4 separate regions of the Homo sapiens genome follow, and regions 1, 2 and 3 are each linked to region 4. The links are contacts of gene promoters, found by promoter capture Hi-C in blood cells and fetal thymus (Javierre and others, 2016). All regions are on one chromosome and are shown on one strand. Each heading gives the region's core, a stretch centred on a gene start or on the middle of the fragment in contact. The rest is flanking DNA. Distances are from core to core; before and after follow the strand shown.

What was found. The method cuts DNA at HindIII sites, captures the fragments that hold promoters and counts their contacts. A CHiCAGO score of 5 or more calls a contact.
Region 1: a contact is called between a fragment that was not itself captured here and the fragment with the promoter of TMEM178A in region 4, in 1 of 17 cell types (total B cells). The highest score is 6.3, in total B cells.
Region 2: a fragment that was not itself captured here is called in contact with the fragment with the promoter of TMEM178A in region 4 in 1 of 17 cell types (total B cells); the score reaches 5.9 in total B cells.
Region 3: a contact is called between a fragment that was not itself captured here and the fragment with the promoter of TMEM178A in region 4, in 2 of 17 cell types (total B cells and erythroblasts). The highest score is 6.1, in total B cells.

The regions. Positions count from the first base shown.
Region 1 is chr2:39,356,521-39,360,029 of GRCh38, reverse strand. All of the region lies in intron 2 of MAP4K3 (mitogen-activated protein kinase kinase kinase kinase 3), which reads left to right. Among named protein-coding and RNA genes, the nearest start is that of MAP4K3, 79 kb to the left of the region's middle. The HindIII fragment of the contact is 6,021 bases long and covers 1-3,509 here.
Region 2 is chr2:39,318,441-39,322,042 of GRCh38, reverse strand. The region is part of intron 12 of MAP4K3 (mitogen-activated protein kinase kinase kinase kinase 3); the gene reads left to right. Among named protein-coding and RNA genes, the nearest start is that of CDKL4, 76 kb to the right of the region's middle. RefSeq lists an enhancer at 548-1,467. The HindIII fragment of the contact is 8,773 bases long and covers 1-3,602 here.
Region 3 is chr2:39,335,362-39,338,874 of GRCh38, reverse strand. MAP4K3 (mitogen-activated protein kinase kinase kinase kinase 3) reads left to right here. Exons shown (of 34, transcript NM_003618.4): 5 at 1,294-1,349; 6 at 1,908-1,955. Among named protein-coding and RNA genes, the nearest start is that of CDKL4, 93 kb to the right of the region's middle. The HindIII fragment of the contact is 1,651 bases long and covers 589-2,239 here.
Region 4 is chr2:39,663,712-39,667,573 of GRCh38, reverse strand. It overlaps TMEM178A (transmembrane protein 178A), which reads right to left and starts at 1,657. Exons shown (of 4, transcript NM_152390.3): 1 at 1,200-1,657. The coding sequence starts at 1,599. The HindIII fragment of the contact is 3,333 bases long and covers 179-3,511 here.

The DNA of each region.
Region 1 (3,509 bases), core at 177-2,676, 310 kb after region 4:
TGCTGCAGAAATTTACATAAGTAACAAGGAGCCAAATGTTAATCACTAAGACAAGGGGAACATGTCTCCAGGGCATTTCAGAGACTTTTGCAGCAACCCCTCCCATCACAGCCCTGGAGGCTTAGGAGGAAAAAATGGTACTGTGGGCCAGGCCCAGGGCTCCCCCTGCTGTGTGCAGCCTAGGGACTTGGTGCTCTGCATCCTAGCCGCTCCAGCCGTGGCTAAAAGGGGCCAACGTATAGCTCAGGCCATTGCCTCAGAGGGTGCAAGCCCCAAGCCTGGCAGCTTCCACGTGGTATTGAGCTCACAGGTGCACAGAAACCAAGAACTGAGGTTTGAGAACCTCTGGCTAGATTTCCAAGGATATATGGAAATACCTGGATGTCCAGACAGAAGTTTGCTGCAAGGGTGGAGCCCTCGTGGTTCTGCTAGGGCAGTGCAGAAGGGAAACATGGGGTTGGAGCCCCCACACAGAGTTCCCACTGCAGCACTGCCTAGTGGAACTGTGAGAAGGTGGTCACTGTCCTCTGGATCTCAGAATGGTAGATCCACTGACAGCTTGCACTGTGTGCCTGGAAAAGCTGGAGACACTTAATACCAGCCTGTGAAAGCAGCCAGGAGGGGAGCTGTACCCTGCAAAGCTACAGGGTTGGAGCTGCCCAAGGCCATGGGAGTCCACCTCTTGTTATCAGCATGACCTGGATGTGAGACATGGAGTCAAAAGAGGTCATTTTGGAACTTTAAGATTTAATGACTACCCTGTTGGTAGTCATTAAACTTTAAGATTTAATGACTATCCTGTTGGATTTCAGACTTGCAAGGGGCCTGTAGTCCCTTTGTTTTGGCCAGTTTCTCCCATTGGAACAGCTGTATTTACCCAATGCCTGTACCACCACTGTATCTAGAGAGTAACTCACTTGCTTTTGATTTTACAGGCTCATAGGTAGAAGGGACTTGCCTTGTCTCAGATGAGACTTTGGACTTGGACTTTTGGGTTGATGCTGGAGTGAACTAAGACTTTGGGGGACTGTTGGAAAGACATGATTGTGACTTGAAATGTGAGGACATGAGATTTGGGAGGGGCCAGGAGTGGAATGATGTAGTTTGGTTGTGTCACCACGCATGTCTCATCTTGAATTGTAGTTCCCATAATCCCCATGGGTTGTGGGAGGACCCAGTGGGAGGTAATTGAATCATGGGGGCAGTTACCCTCTGCTGCTCTACTCGTGATAGGAGGCCTATCTTTATAATGTATTTCTCATGAGCCTTGAACAAAGTTCTTTAAATCCTTTGGATTATTAATGTATTAAACTCTACTTTTTTCTTACCCAAATCTACATTTTTTATTTACCTTTAAAAATCGAGTATGTGGAATTTTTCTTTGAATTTTTTTCCCACAAAAATGTTGAATTTAATTTGACCATTCTCACAATCACATAGAGTTGACTTAATAGTACAAAATGATACACTTTGGATCAGTAGTATTTCATGGGAAGGCTGCAGTTGAAAACCTAAAGCCACTAATACATTCTATTAGAAATAAAAGGAATAATATGTAGGCAATTAATTATATAAAACATGCTAACAATTGGATGAAATTAAACCAAAAGCTGATATTCTGGATTTACAGTCATCATAGAAAGGAATTATGTGGTGCTGTAGATTGATTCAGTCAACAGTTCTTTATTGATCACATCTTTGGTACTAGGGGTACAAAGATGATGAAGACATAATGCTATCCTAGAGGACTTTGTATTCTAGTGAAGGCAAAGACATGCAGACATCAGTGTAATATAATAAAAGTGCTCAATACAAAGATCACTGTAGAAGTTATGATGCTTATAGTTATCTGTAACAGAAACCCCAGCTGAAGTGGCTTAAACAATACACAGAGTTTATTGGTCATGTACAGGTATATCTGAAAATTACAGAGACAGGTGAGGCTTGCTGTAATAGCTCAGTATGCTTCCTTTTACCTGTTTCTCCTCAATGCTTTCCACATGTTAACTTTATCCTAAGGCTGACTCCCTTTGAGGTTGTATCATGACTACTAATAACTCTCAGGGCTACCCCCAGAAAGAGAGCTTTTGTCTTCCAACCATCAGACTAAAGTCTTGGGTTCACTCTGACTAGATCAACTTTTACTGTATGCAACTCTTTCACTAGATTGACTAAAAGTATAATTTTGGGTTGAGTGAGAAACTAAAAGTCCAGAACTTCCAAAGTACCTAGTATACCTATAAAAATTGGTGTTAGTCTTATTTTGGCTTTATTATTCCTAATTTTGTTTTCTTCTAATATACAGAAAATCAGGAATCCTCAATGGTGGGAAGTAAATTGATAAGATCATAGTTCAATAATCTTCCAAATTTTTGAAAGCCTAAAAATTATGTCTTTGGAGATTTGTGATTTTGTGCTCATATCAACGCAGAAATTAAGAACCCAACATAACAACTGTCTCTTCTCCATTATTTCTTTCCTTGTAACTGGGACAGTAAGGTGGATTTTGATATTGGGTTCACATGGTTCATGGTTGGGCTGTTTCAAGTCTCAATTACATTTGCAGTAGCAAAATGCCAAGGCCAGAAATGTCAGGGCTTACCACAATGACCTTATACTTATGATTTGAGCAGTAATTGGGGAAGCCTTCTGTTTTTTACTTTGCTACTAATTTACATTTAATCAGGCTATTCATAGTATATAATACTTTAAAAGCTGAATTAGTAATACAAAGCTACTTTTCTTTCAGAGTAAGCACTTCCATTTGTTCTCTTTCTGCATAGTCTCTGGTTCACCACATTTGCATTCACTGCAGTTCTGTTTCTCTCCATGACAAGTGTTCATTCAGGAGCCACAGCATGTGACACTGCTATAGGATTGCCAGATCTTATTTTAGAGAATTTGGACAAGGAGGCAGTAGGAGAGAGATTATTTGCTAATAGTCTGACCAGGCTAAAATACAGTCCCATTCTGCATTATAACACAGTTGGAACAAGGCACTCAAATACAGGATAAGCCTGTGAATGTGGGCCATCTGGTAATCCAGTACTGCTTGAGTGTAGGCCTCTCAGCTCTACAAACAGCCTGTGGAGATAAATTTGACACACTTGGTGTATAAGGGTTCCTGCCCTAACTTAGAAAAGAATTACTTCTTTGTGCTAAAATTATATTAAATGTTACTTGGAAATAAAGGAAAAAGTAATTTACATTTCCTATTGATGGATTATACCGATGATTATGTCCAAGGCATAATAATAATAGCAAATACTTGTATAAAGCATACTCCATGCCAGGCACTGTTCTAAGCATTTTACATGTATTGGTTCATTTAACCCTTACAACATTCCTATGAGATAGGCTATTATTATTTTACTGAGGATGGAATTGGCACAGAGAAGTCAAATAATTTACCCAAACTCACACCGCTTAGTGTGGAACAGAGTTAGGATTTTAATCCAGAAAGTCTGGGACCAGAGTTCATGCTTTTAAGCACTATGCTATATTTTCTC
Region 2 (3,602 bases), core at 364-2,863, 350 kb after region 4:
AGTATAGAGAAAGAAATAAGGGGACCCAGGGGACCAGCGTTCAACATATGGAGGATCCCGCCAGCCTCTGAGTTCCCTTAGTATTTATTGATCATTTGTGGGTGTTTCCCCGAGAGGGGGATGTGTCAGGGTCACAAGACAATAGTGGGGAGAGGGTCAGCAGACAAACACGTGAACAGTGGTCTTTGCATCATAGACAAGGTAAAAGAATCAAGTGCTGTGCTTTTAGATATGCATACACATAAACATCTCAATGCTTTACAAACCAGTATTGTTGCCCGCATGTCCCACCTCCAGCCCTAAGGCGGTTTTTCCCTATCTCAGTAGATGGAATGTACAATCGGGTTTTATACTGAGACATTCCATTGCCCAGGGACGGGCAGGAGACAGATGCCTTCCTCTTGTCTCAACTGCAAGAGGCATGCCTTCCTCTTATACTAATCCTCCTCATTACAGACCCTTTATGGGTGTCGGGCTGGGGGACGGTCAGGTCTTCCCCTTCCCACGAGGCCATATTTCAGACTATCACATGGGGAGAAACCTTGGACAATACCTGGCTTTCCTAGGCGGAGGTCCCTGCGGCCTTCCGTAGTGTTTGTGTCCCTGGGTACTTGAGATTAGGGAGTGGTGATGACTCTTAAGGAGCATGCTGCCTTCAAGCATCTGTTTAACAAAGCACATCTTGCACAACCCTTAATCCATTTAACCCTGAGTTTGACACAGCACATGTTTCAGAGAGCACGGGGTTGGGGGGTAATAAGATCATAGATTAACAGAATGTCAAGGCAGAAGAATTTTTTAGTATAGAACAAAATGGAGTCTCCTATGTCTACTTCTTTCTACACAGACACAGTAACAATCTGATCTCTCTTTCTTTTCCCCACAGAAATGAAGAATAATGCTTGTTTCACGAGTTTAAGGATATAATGCTAAGGTGCATCAAAACACTTTGTAAACTAAAAAGCAGGTTGCACATGTAAAATTTAAATACCTAATTTTCAAAATTACTTTTGCTACTGTTTCACCATCACAAGTATTTAATATTTCAGTCTTTTAAATTTGTATATTTTTTCCCTGAGATGTACCTACACTGTGAGTAGTTAGTTTGAGTCTTGTTCTTGATTTGCCTTATTGAATCTAAGACTTAGAGCATAATGTTTATGAATTATGTTTCCACAAAGATAGATCTAAGAGTGTATCTCCTTCAAAGGTAATACAATAGCTTCAAAGGTAGCATTTCACCCACAGAGGAAGCTATTGGGTATTGCAATAATTACATGAAATAGATGCTGGTTGAGAGACCTTAGTGTGAGTATGGAGCTGCAAAAGTTTTTTGAATAAGACCTCTTTTACTTCCAAAGGTTATAGTAATGTTCATGAATTAACATTAAATAGAACTCATCTCCATTCTACCCACCTTCAGAATATTCCTGTATGAAGTTGGCAGTGCACATAGAATGGTTTTAATAAAGTAAAAGGAAAGAAAATAGAGGACTGCTCCTCCAAGAAAAAAACATAAAGGGCCAAAAAAAAAAAATTGTGTTGACCAAGAAAAAGTACCATAAATCATTAACCCATTTAGCCTAGTGTTCCATTATTGGAACTAGGCTTGTGGGAGTTATTTATATCCTACTGCTCAAGGCCATCGTCAAGGTTTGATTTTTCACACAAAAAATTTGCAACCTCAGGTATAAATGGGTTAATGCCTTTAGCATTATTTCATTGCATTTATGTCTTATCCTTTTGATATAAGGAGTTGACGCAGATTTTTTAAATTGCAGTCTTCTCTGCAATAGGGAAAGCTACTTGCAACGTGTAAACAGCTATTGAATTATTGAAATACTTAATTTTTGACTATTTATTTATATTTAACTCGATGAACATTCACTGGGGACCTGCTGTAGCTAAAACATTATTTCCTAATCTTGAGAAGTTCACCATTTCAGGAGAAGAAAAAACAGCCAACTTTTGTTAGGGAAGTCAGAGAAGATGTCACAAAGGAAGTGACATTGCTAGAAAGGAGTTTGCCAATAGGAAGATGCCAGAAAGACCAAAGTTTAAAAAATAAAAATAATGGTCAAAGAATTGGGGACTTTTAAAAACTCATCAAGACTCTTAAAAAATGATAGCCATCCCCCATATCTAAATGTTTGAATACACTAGCTTTCATAAATTTTAGAAATGGTAAAATATGGTCTTTAGCCTTAAGATTCATGTAAAAATGAATGCAATCAAGAGAGGGTTACATATGGATTAAGAGCACATCAGGTATGTGAATCTTTGTAATTTCATTTGTCTAGGTTCTTATCTACTGCATAGCAGATTAGTGGATTCTTCTTACATTAAATAATAGCTCACCATATGACATTTATATAGTAGAAATATTTAGACTCTTGATTTTGAATTTTAAGAGATGTTTGACAAAATAAATATTACTTGAGATTTTACTATCATTAACAGTTACCTTTCTTTAAAAACACTGAAAATATAGTTGTCCCTTGACGTACACAAGGGGGATTGGTTCCAGGACTCTCAAGTATACCAAACTCCGTGCATACCCAAATCCCACAGTCAGCCCTGCAAAACCCACATATATGAAATGTTGGTCCTCCGTATACATGGGTTTTGTATCCCCAAGTAATCTGCATAGAAGTGGACTTCTGCAGTTCAAACTTTTGTTCAAGGATAAACTGTACGTGGAATGAAGAAACAATAAGGTTTTAGTTTCCGTATTTCCTAAAATTCCTAGCAATTTTTAGGGAGAAAATTGGGGTAAGGAGGTTCTTTGTAGTTGTGGTTTAAAAAAAAAAAAAGTATGTAATTGAGTGTATATACTTGAAAAAGATGAGAAGACCTAAAAGTAAATTTGACAGCATTCAGAAAGTATTGGCATTTGCTTGTAGGAGTTCTCAATCTGAGCACTGTTGACATTTTGGGCCAGATAATCCTTTGTTTTGGGAGGGCTGCCCTGTGCATTCTAGAATGTTTAGCAGCATTGCTGGACTCTTCCCATTAGTTGCCAGTTAACACCCTTTAATCCCAAGTTGTGACAACAAAAAAATGTCCCCAGATATTGCCAAATGTCTCCTCAGGGACAAAATTGCCCCGGTCAAAAACCACTGGCTTATGTCAACTAGGATTTATCATACTGTCTATGTCTTTCCTTCCCGTACAAACTTGACATTCTCATCTAGCTCCCATTGCAAAGGGCCTGTTATTTGTATTTATATTATTTGATGATAACAATAATCATAGAACTTTAAGATGATAAAAGTTGAATAAACGTGAAATGGTTTGTAAGGGCAGGGTTTTGTTTTTTATCAAGAAGTAATAAAAATAATTGTAATCACGTTGCATGTAAAGCATTGTTTAAAAAAAATAGACACCATGCATCATTGTGAATGGCTTGTTTCTTTAAATGCCATTTATTAGAAAGATTATTTTCATCAGTGCTTCTCTAAATATCATATATTAGTTACTATAAGCCCGTTATCGCAGGTGTCTATGGTTAGTGTGTATTACATTTATAGAGGAAAAATGAGAGTATTTATGTTTAGAAATTAAAGGCTACATTTTAATTTTTAAAAATCTTACCATTTTTA
Region 3 (3,513 bases), core at 165-2,664, 330 kb after region 4:
TGGTGTCTGGCAAGGACCCATTTCTCATAGAGTGCACACACACTGTGTCCTCACATGGCAGAAGAGATGGAAGGGCAAAAAAGAGTAGACACTGCTTGAAGTCTCTTTTATTAAGAGTCTTAATCTCCTTCACAAGGGAGGAGCACTCATGACCTAATCTCCTCCTCAGTGTCCTGCCTCTTTGAGATTAAGTTTCAACGTGAGTTCTGGAGGGACTTAGCAGATGCATACACAGGAAATATTACTTATAAGATTAAGACCTATATATTGATGTAAAGGTGTTCATCGTAAGTGAAAAGAGTAGGTTTCAGAATTGTATGATTCCACTTATGTAAAGTTTCTGAGATACAAATAGTTTATAAAATGTCCGTTTAAAATAGTCTGGTAGGTTATAGACCAAACTATTGGTATTGCTTACTGTTGAGTAACATTTTGGATAAAGAAGAGACCTTTAATTTCCAAACTTTTCTATTGATTGGAACTTTAGAGTGAACATGTATTAATTTTATAGCTATCTGGCTAATATTTTTATAAGAAGTATTGATTTAAAACTAGTCATAATACATGTTCTATATCAACTAAAAAGCTTTAATAAAAGCCAGCTAAACCTATTGGACATCGTTTCTTTTGATGTTTAAGAGATGATATTGATGAATGAGATATAAAAATGAGAATATAATTAATTTCAGTGACTACTTTAGACATTCATTCATTCCATAAATATTTATCAGGCTGCTTTTCTGTGCCAGGCACTGTTCTGCACACTGGAGATACAACAATGAGCAAATCAGATTTTTAAAAAGCAAAAAATTGGCTGGGCACAGTGGCTCACACCTGTAATTCCAGCACTTCAGGAGGCTGAGGCAGGAAGATTGCTTGAGCCCAGAAATTCAATACCAGCCTGGGCAAGATAATGAGACCCCATCTCTGCAAAAAATGAAAAATAAACTAGCCAGGTGTGGTGGCATGCACCTATGCCCCCAGCCACTCAAGAGGCTGAGGTGGGAGGATCACTTGAGCCCAGGAGGTCGAGGCTGCAGTGAGCTGTGATTGCACTACACTCCAGCCTGGGTGACATAATGAGACCCTGTCTCAAAAAAAAAAAAAAAAAAAAAAAAAAAACTGGAGCCAGGCACAGTAGGACAGTAGTAATTCATGCCTGTAGTCCTAGCTTACATTTCAGTAGAATTGTTTAGGGATATTAAGTCTGTTGCTTAAACTTGTAAAACTTTATTATATATTGAAAAACATGCGTTGACTAATTTTATGAGTATTAATTGTCTTCTTTTACAGTAACTGGACCTCTGTCAGAACTGCAAATTGCATATGTTAGCAGAGAAACACTGCAGGTAAATCAAGTGCTAATTCAAAAATAACATTTTTCATTAAACTAAGGCTTTACTTACTGTGCATTACCTGTTCAGCAAAGTAAGAACTAAATATTTTAGTTTGGTAAACTCTTAAAATGAGTTTTAATACATTTGAAAATTGTGTAATGAACTCAAATTATATTTACAAATAAATACTTTAAAGCATAAATGTGATGATATAACCTAAAATTTAAGCACTATGCATCTGTTATTGTATATTTTCCTCTTAATACCAAAGAAAGGCTTGAAAATTAAGCACTATCATGGGAATTCAAACACTCTGATACTAATTAGGTATATACTTTTTAAAAGTTATTTCAAACTATTTGTAGAATTCACTGAAAATTTTCTTAGAAAAATTAGTCATTTTCTTGATCTTTTTTTAGGATATCTCATTAAAATATGTTAATGATTAGTACTAGATCTCCTGTAAAGATTAAATAAAATACACAGAATACTACCCATTTGATTACATAAAATCCAAAAGAGTGCTCTTTGATAAAATCTTGTTTATTTTTCTGTTTTTTGAAACTCCAGGGATTATATTATCTTCACAGTAAAGGAAAAATGCACAGAGATATAAAGGTATACATTATATTTTTAACATAATAACCCTCTCTTCATTTTTAAATACTCTGATCAAATTGTTTTGAGCAAAATTGTTTTATTTGATAAATGCATCTGAAATGTTACCATAATAAAAATGAGTGATACTTTTAATAGTTTAATTTTTTATAGCAGCTTTATTGAGGCACAATTCACATACCATAAAATTCACCCTTTTAAAGTATATCATTCAGTAGATTAATGTTTTAATAACTCATTTTAGCTTCTTTGTAGTTATTGATTAGTAAAATGCAGAGTAAGCTTATAGCTTTCATCAAGTTATAGTTTTTAGTAAGTTTTATGCTTTGACTATTTCAGTGAGCTTTCGCAGTCTTAAGTCTAAGTCTTAGTAATGCATCAAAATGGATAAATTGACCTTTGACACTTTCTCATAGTCTTTTTTTTTTTTTTTTTTTTTTTTTTTTTTGAGATGGAGTCTCGCTCTGTTGCCCAGGCTAGAGTGCAGTGGCACGATGTCGGCTCACTGCAACCTCCCCTCCCGGGTTCAAGTGATTCCCCTGCCTCAGCCTCCCGAGTAGCTGGGATTACAGCCACCTGCCACCATGCTTGGCTAATTTTCATATTTTTAGTAAAGACAGGATTTCATCATGTTGGCCAGGCTGGTCTCGATCTCCTGACCTCAGGTGATCATCCCACCTCGGCCTCCTAAAAGTGCCAGGATTACAGACGTGAGCCACTGTGTCCTGCCTTCTCATAGTCTTTTATTTATTTAGCTGGCAAAGGAGAGCAGGTGCTCTGAATGTGCTGGGGTTAGCCCAGTGGTACAGCATGTGCTCTGGTAGGAATCCTTAGCATATTTCTAAAGATACTGCCATCTCCCCAGTTTAGATTTTTTTTCTTTCACTTATTTTTCTTGTGCCTTCTTTGTTCATCCTTCCTCATATTTCTCTCTTCCCCTTTTGTTTTCTAACATTTTCTCTAACATAAAGATTTTTAACCTTTTTTGAGGATAGAGGCTGGGGCAAATCTTACTGTCCTCTGGGTTTCTGATGATAAACTATGAACTGTCTTCTGAGAAAATGCCCTTATGCGCATGTCTTCAAATTTTCCAAGAAATTTCAATGGACTCGCAGATAACCTGCTGAGATCCCTTGTTTGAAGGTATTTTTTTGTGATCCACTTAAAAGACATAAAGAGCTTTTGGAGTTCAAAGGTAGAAGAGCTCACAGGAAGATGAGCAGCTCAAGAAAGGTTCTGTGTCATTGGCATGTAGATGATCTGGGAGGATTGACAGATTTTTGTCAGAAATGGAAGTTGGAGTACATTTCAAGCAGAGAAAACAATGTGAGCAGATACAGAAGTTAGAAAGTGTGAGGCCATTTTAGAGAACATAAAAACTGTACCATATTATTGAAGAGAAGAGAATGTATGAGACTAATTAGAGATGGGACTGGTTGGGTAGTTTGATGTTCCATTATGCAAGGACTTGTGTGCTAGACTTCAGAGTCTGGGCCTAATTGGGTTGATTTGATTTGGGTCATCGCCACCATTTCTACTCCTGTCTAAGCCACCATAA
Region 4 (3,862 bases), core at 408-2,907:
ACTCAACACAAATCCGTCTGTTTGTTTTCCTACATGGCTACTAAATATTAAAATGTACTGATTTTGGACTTTTTCTTTTTTGGCATCATGAGTCCAAGAGAAGAGATGTTGATTTTTTTTTTTAATCTCAAAGGGGAAAAAAATACATTGAGTCAAGTTCTGAAAGTTAAAGGAAGCTTCACAAGTTGTCACACTGAATATTTTTACGTGAATGGGATTACCAAAAAAAAAAAAAAAATCAAACTATCTGATAGCATTCACAGAAGACAGGTGTTGCACAGATTTCAGAAGAACAAATTGATGCTCTGCAACTCAGTGCCAAACAAAACAAACAACAAAAACAACCTGACAAGGTACCACGAACAGAAGACAGAGTGATAAGCAGAGAGTGAGTGCCCAAATCTGGAAAGCTCTAGTTTAAAGGGCGAGGACATTTTCTCTCCTCAGTGCCTGGACAGCGAGGAGGGTGGGGGTATGGGGTCCTCAGGAAGGTTGGAAAGCAGGTGTCCTATCTGCCTCGGGCAGCCTCCACCAGCCTCCACCAGCCAACGATTGGTCTCTGAAGTCTAATCCACACACACCCTGCACTTCAGGGGTATGAAGGAAGGTTCCGGGGCCTCCTTCGCTGCCCATCAGCCCTGCCAGGCTGGGATGACCACATCAGTTCCGTCTGACACCAGCATCCGCACAATACAGGCAAAGCCCCTTCCCTCTCTTCGGAGGTCGGCACCACTTTTCTTCCAAACGGTATTTCCAAAAGGAGCACAACTTGAAGGAAGGAGCCCGGGTGAGAAAAGTCGAGTCTTTGACGGTTAGTCCCCCTCACGGGGAGCAGCGTCAAGAAAAGACACACATGTCAGGCAGGTGTACAAAGGCAGAGAAGGACGGGGAGAGAGAGAGAACCGGGGAATGGGAGGCGAAGGCAGGAAAGAAGGAGACAGAGGCGGGAGGTGCGGCACGGACTTGAAAGGACGCGCAGGATGTGGACGAAAGAAGAGAGTCAAGGAGAGGGAGAAGAAGGGAGGCAGTGGGGAAAGAAAGGGAAGAGATAAAGACTGGAGGCGGCGGGAAGGATGCAAGAATGCCCAGGCGCGGGGCCGCGGCTGGGAGGGGGCTGCGGGGACCGGCGCGCCCCTGGGAAGCCGCGGGCTGCGCTCCACGCGCGGGCGCCGGGGACGCGGGGTGCGCCCGCCGCTCACCTTTCAGGATGAGGGTGTCGATGTCCCGGTCGATGCCCAGGAAGTAGCACTTCCTCCAGAGGCCCGAGTAGGTGGCGAAGAGGGGCCGGCCGCACTCGGCGTCCAGCCCGCCGAGCCCCAGGAGCGAGCGCCAGGACTCGGGGTCGGCGCGCCCCGGGCCGCCCGGGAGCAGCCGGCGCCCCAGCGGGGGCGAGTCCCGCAGCGGCAGGTGCGACAGCGGCATCAGGCGGTTCTTCTGGTCCGGGGGGTCGGCGCCCGCGCGGCTGCGCTCGCAGCTCTCCTTGTGGCGCCGGGGGTCGGTCTCGTACCAGTGGTCGGTGAAGATGGCCGTGACGAGCAGCCCCAGGGAGCACAGGCTGAGGCCGAGGCTGAGCGCCGTGACGAGCGCCCGCGGCTCCATGGCTTCCCGCCCCGCCGCAGCCGCCGGTGGGCTCGCGCGCCGCCGCCAGACACAATGCACTTGGCCCCAGCTCTCCGCCCGCTCCCTCCCTCTTCCCCCCACCTGCCCCCCACCTCCCTCCTACGGCCTCCTCGCCCTGCGAGCCCGGCCCGGCTCGCTCCCTCTCCCCTGGCCTGATCTCGCCTCCCACCGCCCGCCCGCCCCCGGCCCGGCCCCCGGGCTCCTAGCCCTCCCCCGCGCCGCTCTCGCTTTCTTGCCCCCCTCCTCTTCCCCAGCCCCCTCTCCTCGCCCCGGCGCCCCCCACCCCGCGCACTCCTCTCGCCCCTCTCCCTACCTCCGATCCACAGTCCGCCCTCCTCTCCAGCGACCCCCCTTCCCCTTTTAATCTCTCCTCGCCGCCCTCATCCTCCTCTCTCCCCTTAACCCTGTCCCTACTTTCCCCCGACTTTTCTCCAACTCTTCCTCTCACACTTTCCCCCACTCATTTGCTCCTCTGCTCCCCGGCTCCTGGTGCATTTATATCCCGGCTCTGGACTCGGTGCCTCTCTCCACCTACCCCTCGGCACACCCCTCCCGTCCTCTTCCCTCCAACGACCTTAAAAGACATCCACCGACATAAGACTCACTCTTGTCACTTGTCCAAGTTGATTTTGATCAGTGTCCCGTTTTGTACCCAGGAGCAAATCCCATCCAGGTCGGGCTGCGTGGTAGCGTTTAACTCCTTGGAATCTTGATCTGGAGTCCGAAGGTCCCTTTGTCCTGCCGCCTGCCGCCTGCAGGATGAAGCCTCTGAGACCCCTAGGCAGCCAGCTCTATCTGTCGCGGCTCTTTCCCTCTCACTTGCCCATCGCTTAGCCTCTAAGCATTCTCTCTGCTCAAGCCCCTCTTCTGAAAGAAAAAGACACCGAGTGTCAGTGGAGCGATAGAACGATGACCAGAGATTTTTCTCCCACTTCATTTCAACCTGCTATGAGATGGACTTCTTTTTTCGTTGACTACGTCCATCTCCCGCCAGACTGACTGGCCTCCTGGAATTTCTAGAAGAGCCTGGAATCAATGAACCCTGGCAGTGGCACCTGCTCCATGAGGTGATTATTGCCTTTGCATACAGCAAGCCCCCAGTAATAAATCAAAGTAATGATTTTCTCCTGTGCAGGTTTCCTTCTTGGGCTGGGGGGTGGGGGTCAACAGCAAAGCAATGCTACACACCAAAGTCAACACCTGAGCCTGGGGCAGTTCTTCCATCTTCCAGTCACAGAGGTTACTTCCAAGAATGGCAGGCAGATTCACATTTTCTAAAATGAGGAAACGCTAGGACCCGGGGTGCTAAGAGTTAATCACTTGTGCGGTATAGTCAGTCTATACCACAGAGGTGCAATACACTCGTGCCACTCAATGCCCTTGTGGTCATGTCAGAGACAGAAAACCATGCTGCACTGGCCCAGGGATGAAAATGCTTGTGTTCTTATGCTATGAAATATTAATGATGAAGAAATTATGAGGCATTCATTACATGCTAAATGTCATTACTCCATGATTTAATGGGACTTATTAATTAGTGCCCTACATCAATTGGTATTAATATGCTTTATATCCTTCCTCTAGGATGACATCTGTAAAGGTGGTATAAGGCTCTTGCTGGGATTTATTTTCATTGCTGTTTGTGTTTAGCATCTTCAGAGGGTACATTTCCAGTGAAGATCGTGTGCCTATTCTGAGCGGTTCAGTTCATAGATAGATCACTTAAGCAAATCTTTCAGTTATATCAGACCCGCATTCCCATTTCTGCTGACCTGACAGTGTGAATTATTGCTTGGATTTTCTCACAGTTTCAGCAAGGTCTATGGTGAGCTCTAGTCTAATTAAGGAAGACAAAGAATTATAATTTTAGTGTTCCTCTCACCTATAAGCTTTTCCTTCACAGCAAACACTGAGCTCATCAAAGGAGTCTTAGCTGGATTTACACAAAAATGATAAGACTTAGAAGCTTTCTTTAATTTATACTCTACAATATGTATAAAATCCTAGATCTTAATAGATGCACAGAGAGAATACCTTTAACTGTGAGTCCACAGTTGACATCTGAAATTCACTCAAGTCATCATGTGTTCTTTTATTTTTAGAAATGCATCTTGAGATAAAGTTATCAAAACCTTGGAAGCCCCAAGGGTTGTCAAGCCTTTAGCAAGTCCTCATCCCCTTTTCAAGTCTTCACCTCATGTATTACAAGAAATAAATATTCAGCCACATTCCAGAGTCACCT